5 separate regions of the Homo sapiens genome follow, and regions 2, 3, 4 and 5 are each linked to region 1. Evidence: promoter capture Hi-C in 16 types of primary human blood cells and fetal thymus (Javierre and others, 2016). All regions are on one chromosome and are shown on one strand. The core of a region is centred on a gene start or on the middle of the fragment in contact, and the rest is flanking DNA. Distances in the headings are between cores, read along the strand shown.

Evidence for each region. The method cuts DNA at HindIII sites, captures the fragments that hold promoters and counts their contacts. A CHiCAGO score of 5 or more calls a contact.
Region 2: the fragment with the promoter of ZNF17 here is called in contact with the fragment with the promoter of ZNF606 in region 1 in 13 of 17 cell types (non-activated CD4 T cells, total CD4 T cells, naive CD8 T cells and 10 more); the score reaches 12.2 in non-activated CD4 T cells.
Region 3: a fragment that was not itself captured here is called in contact with the fragment with the promoter of ZNF606 in region 1 in 1 of 17 cell types (naive CD4 T cells); the score reaches 5.3 in naive CD4 T cells.
Region 4: the fragment with the promoter of ZNF749 here is called in contact with the fragment with the promoter of ZNF606 in region 1 in 12 of 17 cell types (naive CD8 T cells, non-activated CD4 T cells, naive CD4 T cells and 9 more); the score reaches 11.4 in naive CD8 T cells.
Region 5: a contact is called between the fragment with the promoter of ZNF543 here and the fragment with the promoter of ZNF606 in region 1, in 10 of 17 cell types (naive CD8 T cells, total CD4 T cells, activated CD4 T cells and 7 more). The highest score is 16.3, in naive CD8 T cells.

Annotation. Positions count from the first base shown.
Region 1 is chr19:58,001,508-58,004,255 of GRCh38, forward strand. It overlaps ZNF606 (zinc finger protein 606), which reads right to left and starts at 1,313. Exons shown (of 7, transcript NM_001348022.3): 1 at 889-1,313. It overlaps ZNF606-AS1 (ZNF606 antisense RNA 1), which reads left to right and starts at 1,387. Exons shown (of 4, transcript NR_036508.1): 1 at 1,387-1,539; 2 at 1,704-1,829. RefSeq lists an enhancer at 1,245-1,664. The HindIII fragment of the contact is 14,498 bases long and covers 428-2,748 here.
Region 2 is chr19:57,409,832-57,412,531 of GRCh38, forward strand. It overlaps ZNF17 (zinc finger protein 17), which reads left to right and starts at 1,330. Exons shown (of 4, transcript NM_001330617.2): 1 at 1,330-1,575. RefSeq lists enhancers at 1,334-1,443, 1,524-1,583 and a silencer at 1,827-2,029. The HindIII fragment of the contact is 5,033 bases long and covers 1-2,504 here.
Region 3 is chr19:57,238,200-57,241,014 of GRCh38, forward strand. It overlaps ZNF805 (zinc finger protein 805), which reads left to right and starts at 2,433. Exons shown (of 4, transcript NM_001023563.4): 1 at 2,433-2,722. The coding sequence starts at 2,693. RefSeq lists enhancers at 2,031-2,250, 2,271-2,540 and a silencer at 2,661-2,730. The HindIII fragment of the contact is 1,631 bases long and covers 751-2,381 here.
Region 4 is chr19:57,433,871-57,436,623 of GRCh38, forward strand. ZNF749 (zinc finger protein 749) reads left to right here and starts at 1,455. Exons shown (of 3, transcript NM_001023561.4): 1 at 1,455-1,723. The coding sequence starts at 1,709. RefSeq lists enhancers at 1,040-1,339, 1,970-2,019. The HindIII fragment of the contact is 4,352 bases long and covers 1-2,753 here.
Region 5 is chr19:57,319,029-57,321,803 of GRCh38, forward strand. It overlaps ZNF543 (zinc finger protein 543), which reads left to right and starts at 1,444. Exons shown (of 4, transcript NM_213598.4): 1 at 1,444-1,843. The coding sequence starts at 1,826. RefSeq lists enhancers at 1-337, 1,263-1,382, 1,393-1,542. The HindIII fragment of the contact is 3,609 bases long and covers 1-2,431 here.

The DNA of each region.
Region 1 (2,748 bases), core at 63-2,562:
AAAAAGTAACACAATTCCTGGAGAGAAATGAAAGGTAATTTGCATAAGCTGGAAAAAAGAGCATGATCCTGAATGAGAGGGTACAAATTTGTCAGCTATTCCCAAGAGACAGCCAGTCACAACACAGATGGAACTTTTGGATTAATCTGACAATTATTGTAAAATCAACTTGCAATCCTCATATATTAGTGGTTGCCTAGAGCTGGGGGAAAAATGAAATGGGGAGTGACTGCTTAAGGGGAACAAGGGTTTCTTTGTGGGGTGATGAAATGTTCTAAAATTAGATAATGGGGATGATTGCACAACTTTATTAATATACAATAAAACCGGTGAATTGCACACTTTTAAGTGCTTAAAGTGAACATTATGTTATGCAAATTTAATCCCACCTCCAAAAAAAATTCACCTCCAAGATTTACTAAGCCTAAGCTTGTGTGTGTGTGGAGGACTTAGAGATGGGCCTGGCGCCCAGACCCCTAACTCCTCAGGTTCCAGATCTTTGTACAAGTCAGCAACCTCTCGAATGGATTCCTGGGTATGTGTATAAAGCACTAGAACACACAGTGGGCCTCAGGAGCACCGGAATCAGCGCGAAAACGCAGAATGCAAACCGTACTTTGCACCATTATTTGCAACTTGACAGTGACCGCCGCCGTCACTGCATGTTTAAGGGAACCCGGAGCTGTTTCCAACCCAGGTCTGACGTCCTTCACAGTGCTTTGTGTGAACTGGCAGGGGGAGAAACGACGGCTGGGGAACGAACGGGGTTATTCGTCCCATCAATGGCCTCAGAAGCATCCTTATCACCTGCTTCCAGAGCTCCCGACCCAAATTTCCTCCTCAAGACCGACGCGGCCGCGACGCTGCAAAAGCTCGTCCCGGCCTCACCTGGCTCGCGGCCGGCGGTCCCCCTTGAAGGCGGCGCAGCAGGATCGGGGTCTGCCCGCCTGGGGCGTTTGGCTTTTGTCCCGCGCCGAGGTCCGGCCCAGGAGTGCGCTTGGGAGCTCCCGGCGCGGCCTCGGGGACAAAGGCCCGCGGAGCCGACGTGCAGCAGAGTTCACCCAGGCCCGTCCGACCAGAAAACGAAGAACGCCCGGAGGCGGGAGGCCGGAGGCAGGCTGCTGGCTGGAGAACCGACGGCAACGACGGCGCAAAGCCGGCGCGGAAAGGGCAGGCGCAGGACCCACCCTGACGCCGCCTCTCCCAGCCGGCTCTCCTGACCCCCCAAGCCCCGCAGCTACGGCGGCCCCACAGCCTGAGCAAAGGCCTCACCTCAGCCGCGGACAATGGCGGCTGCTTCCCCGGCGTCGACCGGAGCGCGCCGCGGGGTCTGCTGGGAGCTGTAGTTCCAGGCGGGCACTTCCGGCGTCGGGCAGCGGCGCCGCCATGACAGGTTCCTGGGCCGCGCCGCCTCGCCCTGCCTGGGCGGGGTTGGGACCTTTCTGGCACCTGCGTCGAAGCCGGCGGCAGGATGGACTTTGTTGTCCCGGTCCCAGACCACCCTCCTCCACCGTCGCCTCCCACTGCAAAAAGGCCTGGGTAAGTCGCGGCCCCGCGGGCCTCGGTTTGCCCATCCGCAAAATGGCGCCTCGTGGTACCGGGTTTCCCGGGAGGAGCTCGGCGAGTTCTCAGCGCTCTCGAGGGATCCTTCCATTTGGCGTTCGCAAGATTGTGAGAAAGTGACTGCTGTTATTCTCTTTAAGATAAGGAACCTAATTCGAGCTACCCTTCTCTGTGAAGCTCGACGGCTGAGAACGTCAGGGCTCGTTCCCAAGTCTCTTTCCAGAGGCCAGGCTTTATGGGAGCATGGGTTACCAGCGACGCACCCTGTGAGTTTTCCTCTATCGATATGCATGGAGCGGTTCGGGAGCGGTGGCTCATTCCTGTAGTCCCAGCACTTCGGGAAGCTGTGGCGGGAGGATCAGTTGAGTTCAGGAGTTCGACACCACCCTGGGCAACATAGCGAGACCACATCTCTACAAAAAAAATACAAAAATTAGCCCGGTGTGATGGCGCGCGCCTGTAGTCCCCGCTACTTAGGAGGTTGCGGTGGAAGGATTGCTTGAGCCTGGGAGGTCAAGGTTGCAGTGAGCTATGATCGCACCACTGCACTTCAGCCTGGGCAACAGAGCAAGACCCGGCATTAAAACAAACAAAAACGGGCCGGGCGCGGTGGCTCACAGCTGTAATCCCAGCACTTTGGGAGGCCAAGGCAGGTGGATCGCCTGAGGTCAGGAGTTCCGAGACCAGTCTGGGCAACATGATAAAACCTCGTCTCTACTAAAAATACCAAAAATTAGCCGGGCTTGGTGGAGGGCACCTGTACCCAGCTACTTGGGAGGCTGAGGCAGGAGAATCGCTTGAACCCGGGAAGCGGAGGCTACAGTAAGCCGAGATCAAGCCATTGCACTCCAGCCTGGGCAGCAGGGCAAGACTCTGTCTCAAAAAAAGGGACTGAGGGACTGTAGGTGGTGATACCAAAGAAAGCATGGCCATTTAGGAAGCTAGACTTGAGTGAGCAGTGGGCAAGAGAGATTTTGAAGATATTTCCACTAGTAATGGAGGATCATTTTAAAAAGCTGGCCTGTGGGTTGGGCTTTTGTTGTTGGGTGGTGTTGGCACTCACTGTGGGTGGGCAAAGGGGAGTAGCCCTTTCAGAGGGAGAGGAAAAGTTCAAGTAGGACAGGCTGAATTCAAGGGAGAGGAAAATTTCAAGTAGGACAGGCTGAATTCGAGGGAGAGGACCAT
Region 2 (2,700 bases), core at 80-2,579, 590 kb before region 1:
ACAGGACATTTAAAGTGACCTGACAAGGTCAATACAGGACTGAGGACTAATTCATTAAATACGTCTTACGTGTCTTAGAGGACCACAGACAGCTAGCAACCCTACTCCTAATGTGTCCCATGCACTTAGTATTGTACCTGGCATCGAATGAGTGTTCATCAAATATGTTAGAGTAATAAATACGACAGCACAGTTTCCCTATTCAGCTTTACTTTTCTGGTAACTCTTTTAATATATAGTCTTTACCTCTCCCTTCAAGCTGTTAATGCACAATGTTTTCAAGTTTGAAAAAGAATCAGATTTTGGACACCAAACTTGAGTGTGTCCAAGGTTCCAGGACAACCTTAGCTTTTTTCCTCCTATCACAAATATGTTTCTCTATAACTATTTTTGCCACTTTCTTTGGATATCTACATAATCGTCATTAATAGTTTCAGTAATAGCCATTTCACAAGAGTTATTCAGAGACAATTTCAACTCCCTGTGCAGACACTGTTGATACAATTTCAGGCGAAATGATAAATCACTTTCCACTAATGAGATGAGATCATGCATTCCCAAACCTTTATCTCAGGAGTAAGATGCTTTCTTTGCACAAGGGCTTTGACTGGTGGAAGGCCACACTATTCTGGCAGATAATGGTAGATAAGTCGCTTTTCCTTTTCAGTTAGGTTTCAGTCTCTTAAAATAAGTGGAAAATATCTCAGATATAAAGTAATAAGTATCATGTGAATAAAGTGTTGCTGGGTAGGCTGAAAGACAATAACTGATTATTCAGAAAGGAAAGATATTACTCCTCAAACTCCCCATCATGCCATGTCTGGGTCTTTTCAATGTGCCCAGCAGAGCACATTGAAGATCATAAAACAGTCTCCAGAGCTTCGTTCTGTGTGTATTTGGCAAGCACAAAAGAGCTGACCGCTATGCGTGGAAGACCAGTTCTTTATGGTTGGCCATGTTCCTTCGGATGTTCGTCTTTTGGGAACTTGCTGTGCTTTACAGAATCTGAAAGGACAGGTCTCTGAAACATTTCTCTGACTTGTTCTAGACTGCCTTCCGGGAAAATCTGGATGCTTGCCGTTTAAAAGCCAATGAAGCCCCTCCACGTCCTTGGAGCCCCGCAACTGCATTTCTCAAAGCCTCAGGAGGATCCTCCTGGCTTTCATCCTGAACGCGAGTTAACTTAAGTTCAGAAGCGGGGCAGGCAGTGGCCTGGGAACTACATTACCCAAAAGACACAGCGGCGGACACAAGCAGCGAGTGTAGCCAATGAAGGCCTAGCAGAGCGGCGTCTACGGGGGTTCGCAATGCGTGTGGGCGGGACTTCCTGCAACGCCTCCTGGGGTTGTCAATATGGCTGCGTTGGGATCTGTTCACCTTCAGGCTGAGTCGAGACTGAGGTGAAAAAGCGGAAAAACGCGAGAAAAGGTTTCCCCGTTGTACAGAGGCTAGAGTGAGGCTCGGTTGAATCGGTTGCAGGCGTTGGTGCCTCTGTCAGCGTCCAGGTCACTGCCGCTCCCGCCCCGCTCTTCCCTGGCTGTGCTGGCGGAGGCTGCGCCGATGAACCTGACTGAGGTGGGTGCCGCGTCCCAGGGCGCCCCGCCCGATCCCTCCTCCGAGTGCCGAAGCCCCGAGGAGGGGCCCTGCAGGTCAGGCCCCTGTGTCCCAAAGAGAGGAGCGTTCTTGTGTGGGGTACCGGTGTCCGCGGTGCTGTGAGGCGGGGGAGCTCCTGTCAGGGACCTGCACGTGCGAGGCTTAGAGGTGCTGCAGAGCGGGCGGCACTGGGGAGCCCGAGCGTCTTTGTCTCCACGGAGCTGAGGGTGAGGCGGAGTCTCGCCTGGGAGGGCAGCGGAGCTGCTGAAAGCCGTAGAAGGCTGTGCAGGAAGGGTTATGCCCAGAGGTAGACGTTTAAAGTTGGGAAAAACAGGATGTTAAACCAGGACAAGGGGACCGCTGAGGAGACCCCTTGAGTTATGGTAGGGATGGGCCAGAGGGGTTGCAGTAGAGGGGAAGTGTGATGAGATTCTGGATGGATCTCAGAGATAGAGTCGACAGGATTTCCTGCTGCATCAAATGTAGCAGTGAGGGTAGTGAAGGGTCTATTCCATGGATTTTGTTTTGGCCTGAAAATCTGAAAGAATGGAGTTGGAGAAGTCAGCTTAGGGAGCAGGTTTCAGAGAGGATTATGAGTTGCATTTTGGAGGGCTGAGTTTTGGAGGGCAGATCATGGGTGGGTCCATAAGCCTGACGCTACCTTTAGAAAGGCGCAGACCTGTCATAGGAGGGATTCTGGCTCATATCTGCAAAAACGGAGTTCTGAATGGGTTAAGGAACTGGCCTAGGCTGGAGACTGAGGTGTGAGGTGGTTTAGATTTCTGCACCTGCAGACCCAGCAGCCCCCCAGGCCCACTCTGTGGAACAATAGGAAGGTCATCCAGACTAGTGGGGACATTGGGTCCAGACGGGGGTAGGGCTTTCTCACATCTAGTCAAGGGCCTCCAGCAAGCTTCCAGCAACTGAATTTGTAGCAGGCAGGCCTGGTTGCTGATGGGACCAGTAACTGACCTGCTTGCTTATCCCCTCCCTGCAACTTATTTATTTATGAATGTGTAAAACATTTTTTTTTTTTTTGAGACAGAGTCTCGCTCCATCGCCCAGGTTGGAGTGCAGTGGCGCGATCTCGGCTCACTGCAAGCTCCG
Region 3 (2,815 bases), core at 316-2,815, 760 kb before region 1:
TAGTTCAGGGTTGTCAAAAGGCCAAAATTACAACAAATTTAGTTTTAGATCTAATTGACTTTTGTTTGTGATTCATGAATTGAGGCAATCTCTGTTCTACACAATAGAAATTAGAGTTCCCACTGGGCAATGGCAGAACAGTGGGTTTTGTAAGGTGGGAACAATAAAATAGAACAATAGAAAAAAAAGCTGATTGGTTAACAGATTACTTTTTCTAAGGGTTAAAGCAGAGGGGACTTCCTAATTTCACTAATTCAGGTAGACTGAAATCTGCTTTTAGGAAAAACTGGGATCTGTCTGCTTCCTTAAAACTTCAGTTTGATTAGATGACATTTAGTATGAGAGACGCCATTTTGATTTGGTCAGTGAGGCCTGCTGTAGGAGCTCCAAAACAATGGCCTCCTGTAATTTTTGTTTAACAATGTTCACCTCTTTCCATTCCTTTCTCCATCTATGCTCATTTTTTTTCATGGTCTTGTCCAGTATCATAACTTGAAATAACAGTGTTTGCCAAAAACTTCCAGATTTTTATGTCCAGGCACAACTTCTCTCCCAATATTCAGTCAGAGATTGAACTGCTGTGACACAGACACTCTGTGGTCATACAGACATTTCAAACTGATCATGCTTAAAGTTGGAGTCATGAGCTCACCCAGTCCAAGACTCCCCACGTTAAGGAATGTCAAATCTACTCTACCAGGGCTCTCAGCCAATACCTAAAGCAAAAGTTGCTGGACCATGTGAAGACCAAGCTTGGCCAAAGAAGGCCCAAGAGAGACAATGCATTTGCAACATGTCCCAGCTGGACAGGGTCTTGCTCTATTGCCCAGACTGGAGTGCAGTGGTGCAATTACAGGTCATTGCAGCCTCGACCTCCTGGGCTCAAGAGATCCTCCCATCTCAGCCTCCTGAGTAACTGGAATTACAGGGGTGTGCCACAATGCTCAGCTAATTAAAAATTTTTTTTGAGTAGGCTGGATGCTGTGGCTCATGCCTGTAATCCCAGCACTTTGGGAGGCCAAGGTGAGTGGATCACTTGAGCACAGGAGTTCAAGACCAGCCTGGGCAGCATGGTGAAACTGACTACAAAAACTACAAAACAAAACAAAAAAACCCTCAATTTGCTGGGCGTGGTGGTGCGTGCCTGCAGTCCCAGCTACTTGGGTGGCTGAGGTGGGAGGATCACTTGAACCCTGGAGTTTGAGGCTGCAGTGAGCTGTGATCGCGCCACTGCACTATGGCCTGAGCAACAGAGCGAGACCCTGTCTCAAAAAATATATATATAAATATATATATAAATATATATGTGCATATATATACGTATATATACATATGTATATATACGTATATATGTATATATGTATATATAAATATATGTATATATAAGTAGAGAGAGAGAGAGAGAGAGAGACGGAGTCTCACTCTGTCGCCCAGGCTGGAGTGCAGTGGCGCGATCTCGGCTCACTGCAAGTTCCGCCTCCCGGGTTCACATCATTCTCCTGCCTCAGCCTCCCGAGTAGCTGGGACTACAGGCGCCAGCCACCACGCCCGGCTAATTTTTTGCATTTTTAGTAAAGACGGGGTTTCATCGTGTTAGCCAGGATGGTCTCGATCTCCTGATCTCGTGATCTACCCGCCTCGGCCTCCCAAAGTGCTGGGATTACAGGCGTGAGCCACCGCGCTCTATTTTTTTTCTTTTCTTTTTCTTTTTTTTTTTTTTTTGGTACCAATGAGGTCTCGCTCTGTCGCCCAGACTGTTCTCAAACTCCTGTCCTCAAGCGATCCTCCTGCCACAGACTTCTGGGACCACAGGTGTGCGCCAGCACACTCAGCTTATTTTAAAAAAATTTTTTTTTTTTTTGGTAGTCTCCCTATGTTGCTCAAGCTGGTCTTGAGCTCCTGGGCTCAAGCGATCCGCCCCCCTTGGCCTCCCAATGCGCTGGGATCCCAGGCCTGAGGCATCGCGCCGCCCGACGTCCCCCTTTGGTTACTCTGACTGCCCGCTGATCTGTATAAGAGGATCCGGAGGGGAAATAATGCAAGGTGGAAGTCAGAGTCCGGAGCCTGGTCCAGGGTCTCTGCACTGGCCCTGACCCTGGCAAATGTCCCTGACTCCTGGGGCTCGATTTCCTCCGGCCAAGAATGGACGGTCTCGCGCTTGGTCCCTGGCCTCCGAGTTGTGCCCCCAGGACAGAGGCAGGTCTGAGCCGGGCTGTAGGCCCGCTGCGACTTTTACACCGAGGCCTGCCGGCTCAGGATCTGTCCCCTTTGCAGGTGGTTTGTAGAGAAAAACTACATTAACTACAAGGCATTGCCAGGTGCGACGGCGGGCCCTGGGGCCAATGATGGTCCAGGACAGGGGCGTTTCCTGTGGGTTGCGAAGCTTGGGGCGGGACTTCCGGCATTTGGATGGGACGTAATTTGGGAGCGACGGTTCCGTCCACGCCGGCTCTAGGGAGGGGGCGGTGTTCCGTGGCCGCCTCCCTGGCGGCGCTGGGGAAATGAGCAGGTAGGAGGCCGACAGCGACCTCCGCGTCTCGGAGCGAACCGTGAGCCTCCCCGTAACGAGAGAGTTTGACTGTCAGCCAAGGTCACCGGGCCCGGCGCAGGGAAGGGGTGGGGCTCGGCTGAGCCCGCGAGACCCGCCCTGCTCGCCGCAGCCCCCGCCCCGCTAGGGCCACAGGGTCCCGGTATGGCGATGGCTTTGACGGACCCGGCGCAGGTGAGTGGACAAGGTTTCGGCCTTGCTGCTTTTCTGCTAGTTCGGGGAAGCCTCCTGGGCAGGCCGGAAGCCAAGACAGCCACAGGATTCCTC
Region 4 (2,753 bases), core at 205-2,704, 570 kb before region 1:
ACTCAATTGCAGTGAGAGAAAAATAGCTCTAAATGCCGACTTTTTGTAGTGCATTGTAAAAAGCTGAATAAAGCCAGGGACGGTGTCCTGTACCTACAGTCCCAGCTGCTCTAGAGGCTGAGGTGGGAAGATAGCTTTAGCTCAGGAGCTGAGGCCTTATCATAAGGCCTTATAAGACTACCTGGAGGCTTCATCTGCATGATATAACCTTGGTCTTCACAACCCCTTGTCTTTTTTTGTTTTTGAGACGGAGTTTCGCTCTTGTTGCACGGGCTGGAGTACAATGGCGAGATCTCGGCTCACCGTAACCTCCGCCTCCCGGGTTCAAGCGATTCTCCTGCCTCAGCCTCCCGAGTAGCTGGCATTACAGGCATGTGCCACCATGCCCGTCTAATTTTGTATTTTTAGTAGAGATGGGGTTTCTACATGTTGGTCAGGCTGGTCTCGAACTCCCAACCTCAGGTGATCCGCCCACCTCGGCCTCCCAAAGTGCTGGGATTACAGGCGTGAGATACCACGCCCGGCCCACAACCCCTTAACCCAGACAACCATTTCTACTGATTCCAGGTCTTTAGATACAAACTCTTTCAACCAATTGCCAATCGGAAAATCTTTGAACCCACCTGACCTGGAAGCCCCGCCCCTCCCTTCCAGTTGCGCCTTTCCAGAGGAATCCAATGTACATTTTACATGTATTGATTGATGTCTTACGTCTTCCTAAATTGTTAAAACCAAGCTGTAGATGGGCCACCCTGGGCATATGTTCTTAGGATATCTTGGAGCCGTGTCATGGGCCATTAGTCACTCATATTTGTCTCAGAATAAATCTCTTCAACTATTTCACAAAGTTCCACCCTTTTCGTCGACAGAAAGATATTCCTCCTTCAACTCTCCATCACATCCTGTGTGGGTCTTTTCTTTCTTGTCCCAACAGAAGCACACTAACGATCAAAAAAAAGTCTCCAGAGCCTCAGTATGTGTGTACTTGACAAGCACAAAAGAGCTGACCGCTATGAATGGAGGACCAGTTCATTATGGTCAGCCATGTCGCTTCTGATGTTCTTCCTTTCGGGACTTGCTGTGCTTCAGAGAATCTGAAACGACAGGTCTCTGAAATATTTCTCAGACTTGTCCTAGACTGCTCTCCGGGAAAATCTGGTTACTTGCAGTTTAGGAGTCAGCAAAGCCCCTCCACGTCCTTAAGAGCCCCGGAACTGCATTTCTTAACGCTCCTCCAGGAGCCTCCAGCTTTTTTCCGTAAGGTCCGCGCGCCCAGCATTGTGAGGCGAGGCAGGCAGCAGCGTGGGAACTACATTACCCAGAAGACACTGCGGGCGACACAGGCAGCAACGTGAGAACTACATTACCCAGAAGACACTGCGGGGGCAGGGCAGCGAGTGTAGCCATTGGTCTAGCAGAGAGACGACTAATGAGGTCTCAATTGTGTGGGCGGGACTTCTGGCGGCGCCCTCATGGTTGCGTTAGCATGGCTACCTAGGGATCTGTTCACTGATTTAGAGGGTCCCAGAGCTCTGGGTCGGGACTGAGGTGAAAGAGCGGAAAAACGCGAGAAGCGGTGTTCCTTCTACACAGAGGCTAGAGTGCGGATCGGCTGAGTCGGCTGCAGGCGCCCCTGCCTCCGTCAGCGTCCAGGTGACCGCCGTTCCCGCCCCGCTCTTCCCTGGGTGGACTGGAGGAGGCCGCGCCGATGAACCTGACCGAGGTGCGTGCAGCGTCCCAGGCCGCCCCGCCCAACCCCTCCTCCCAGTGCTGAAGTCCCAAGGAGCCGCCCTGCAGGTTAGGCCCTTGTGTCTCTAAGAGAGGGGCGTTCTTGTGTGGGGTGCCCGGGACTGGGACTGCGGTGCGATGAGGCGGGGGAGCTCCCGTCGGAGACCGACACGTCTCTGGGGCTTGGAGGCACTGCAGAACGGGCGGCACTGGGGAGCCCGAGCGTCTTTGTCTCCAAGGAGCAGAGGTTGAGGCGGAGTCTCCCCTGGAAGGGCAGTGGAGCCGCAGAGAGCCATAGAGGGCTGTGCAGGGAGGACGAATGGGAGGGTCACGCCCAGAGTTAGAAGTTTAAAGTTGGGGAAAACAGGATGTTGAACGGGGGCAGGGGGACCGCTGAGGAGACCCCTTGAGTTATGGTAGGGCTGGGCCAGAGGGGTTGCAGTAGAGGGGAGATGTGATGAGACTCTGGATGGATCTCAGAGATAGGGTCAACAGGATTTCCTGCTGCATCAAACATAGCTGTGAGGGAAAGTCGGTAGTGAATGGTGTCTTCCATAGGTTTTGTTTTGGCCTGAAAAATCTGAAAGAATGGAATTAGAGATATCAGCTTAAGGAGCGGGTTTCAGACAGAAGATCCTGGGTTGGATTTTGGGCGACATCACATGGGTAGGTGGACGTAATTTCCAAAGGTGAGGGAAGGTAGCTGGCCTGGAGCTTTAAATGAGTTAGAAGTTGTGCACTTGAGAAGTTGGCCTGTGGATCAGATTGAGAAGGAAGAATCCTACATCGTTTTTTCATATGGGCTGAGGTAGGGGAGGGCTCAGATTTGGAGGAAAGACCATGGTAGGGAGGGCATCTCTGATACTCCCTGCAGAAGGGAGCAGATATGGGCTAAGAGTCTGGTCTGTTTCTGTTGAAAAAGAGGCCTGGATGGATAAGGAGTTGCCCTGGAATACAGAGACTGAGGCATGAGATAATTGTAGTCACTCCACCCTTCTAACTCAGCTGGCCCTGAGGGCCACTCT
Region 5 (2,775 bases), core at 194-2,693, 680 kb before region 1:
ATTTAGCTACCACTTATAAGTGATAACATGCAGTATTTGACTTTGTTTCTGAATTATTTCACTTAAGAGAATGGCCCCCCAGTTCCAGCCATATTGCTGCAAAAGCCATGATTTTTTTTAATGACTGAGTAGTATTCCATGGAGTGTATATATATATACACATATATACATATACATACATATATATACATATATATACATATACATACATATATACATATATACATATACATACATATATATACATATATATACATATACATACATATATATACATATATATACATATACATACATATATATACATATACATACATATATATACATATATATACATATACATACATATATACACATATATATACATATACATACATATATACATATATATACATATACATACATATATACATATATATACATATACATACATATATACATATACATACATATATATACATATATACATATACATACATATATATACATATATATATCGCATTTTCTTTATCCAATCATCTGTCGATGGACACTTAGGTTGATTCTATGACTTTGCTACTGTGAATAGTGCTACAGTAAGCATGTAAGTACAGGCATCTTTTTGATATAGTGGTTTATTTTCCTTTAAGTAAATACCCAATAGTGGAATTGCCAGATCAAATGGCAGTTCTATTTTCAGTTCTTTGATAAATCTCCATACTGTTTTCCATAGAGGTTGTACTAATTTACATTCCCACCAATAGCATATAAGCGTTCCCTTTTCCTTGCATCCATACCAACATCTGTTGGTTTTTTACTTTTTAATAATAGCCACTCTGACCAGTATAAGATGGCATCTCAGTGTGTTTATGTGTGTGTGTTTTCTCTCATCATATCTCATTATAACCTCAAATTCCTGGGCTCAAGCAATCCTCTTGCTTCAGCCTCCCAGTGTCTAGGACTACAGGTGTACACCATCATGCCTTGCTCTTTTTTTTTTTTTTGGTAGATATAACATCTTACTATATTGCCCAGGGTGGTCTCAAACTCCTGACCTCAGCAATTATTTTGTGTTGGCATCCCAAAGCACTGAGATTACATATATGAGCTACCTCCCTAAAATAAGGGAAGTGAGCCAGAAGCTCTGGGCCCAGCCCATGATCTCAATCGGGGCGAATATCCCCGCCTCCTGACCTCAATTTTCCTAAGCTAGAAAGGACCTTTCGACCCTCCGACTTGTGCCCATAGTAAAGCGGCGGCCCTAAGACGACGCGGGGGTCCTTGTGCGCACTTAAATGGAGTCGGCTGCGCTTGGTGAGTTCCCACACCCGGTAGATGTGAGGGAAAAACTGCCTTACTCAGAAGGCACCACCCCTTGCGTCGGCCGCGGACTCTAGGCCAATGACGGGCCAGGACACGGGCGATTTCTGCGGGCCAGGGCGGCGGAGGTGGGACTTCCGCTTCGTCGCGTGACGTCATCTCCGTGAGCAGGATTGGCCCTGGAACAGTGTGGGGCCTGGACCGCTGGGTAGGCGCGTCCAGCGGCCTGAGCAGGGGAGGGTAATGAGGCTGTTACGCGCCTTCTCCGCATCTTGGCGGGAGCCTGACGCCCCGCTTCTTCCCTAACGGGGTGTTCCACCGGCGCCTGCCGAGGCCTAGGCCTCCGCAGCCGCCCTCCGTCTCCTCAGCCCCGACGCTGCGCCCGCTTTGTGCGCATTTTTCTCTGGGGAAACTGAGGCTCCGAGTGCGAAAGTCAGCCGAGGTCGCCCCGCCCAGGACAGAGAAGGGCTGGGGGTCGGCTGAGCCGCGGCATTCCCGGGCCCCGCTAGGGCTGCAGGGTCTCAGGATGGCAGCCTCGGCGCAGGTGAGTGGACGAGGTTTTGGCCTTGCTGCTGCTCTGCTACTTCTGGAGGCCTCGTGGGCAGGCAGAAGCCAAGACAGCCACAGGATGTTTCTTTGTCGCCGTCGTTTATTTAAGAGAAGTGGCCGTAGCTTGTCATTTCCTTTATCCGCAGTCCTGCAATAGTGTTGGCCTCCGACAGGTGCTCAGTCCTTGGTAGAAGGATGAATGATGCTTCCTTCATGGATCTCATCACACTTCCCTTAAATCCAACCTCCTCTGTTGCCTGCCAGCCCCTACCCCATCCACCTGGCCAACCACCCCTGACCTTGTCTCTCCATTTTTCCCTTGTCCTTTGCTCTTCAGAGCCACCAACCTGACCGTGCAGTCTTCTTCCTTTTTCCAGGCTTTCTCTTTGCACTTCCCTTTGCCTTGAACACTGCCCCTATAACTTCGCAGGGCCTCCCTCTCATATCTTTCTGGCCTCTGTCCAGATGTCACCTATTTGGAGGTGGCTTTCTTGGCAATTCCGGCTAAAGTGGCGCCTTACGCACTTGCCCATTTTTGGCAATGTGTGGCATTTTTGTATAGAGAATCTGACGATATTAAAGAAGCTTGCCGTTTGAGTTGGTCTAGGATGTTATGTGAACAAAGAGAAACGAAATAATTGCAAAGAGTGACAGCTGATCATAAAGAGTCCTTGCTGTGGGCTGATTGGCAGGCATTATTTAACCCTCAGCTCCTTTAATCCTGAACTCCTTAGAATTAGGTTCTCTTGTCCTCACTGTTTTACACAAGAGCAGCTGGAGGCTCACATAGGTTCAATTACCTGCCTTACATCACTGTAGCTCTTAAGTATCAGAAACTAACAACTGGTGTGTCTACCATCACAGCCTGTGTTTTTACCCTCTTCTTTGCCCGCAATGGTTAGGGAGGCCTGGGGGTGACACCTAAAG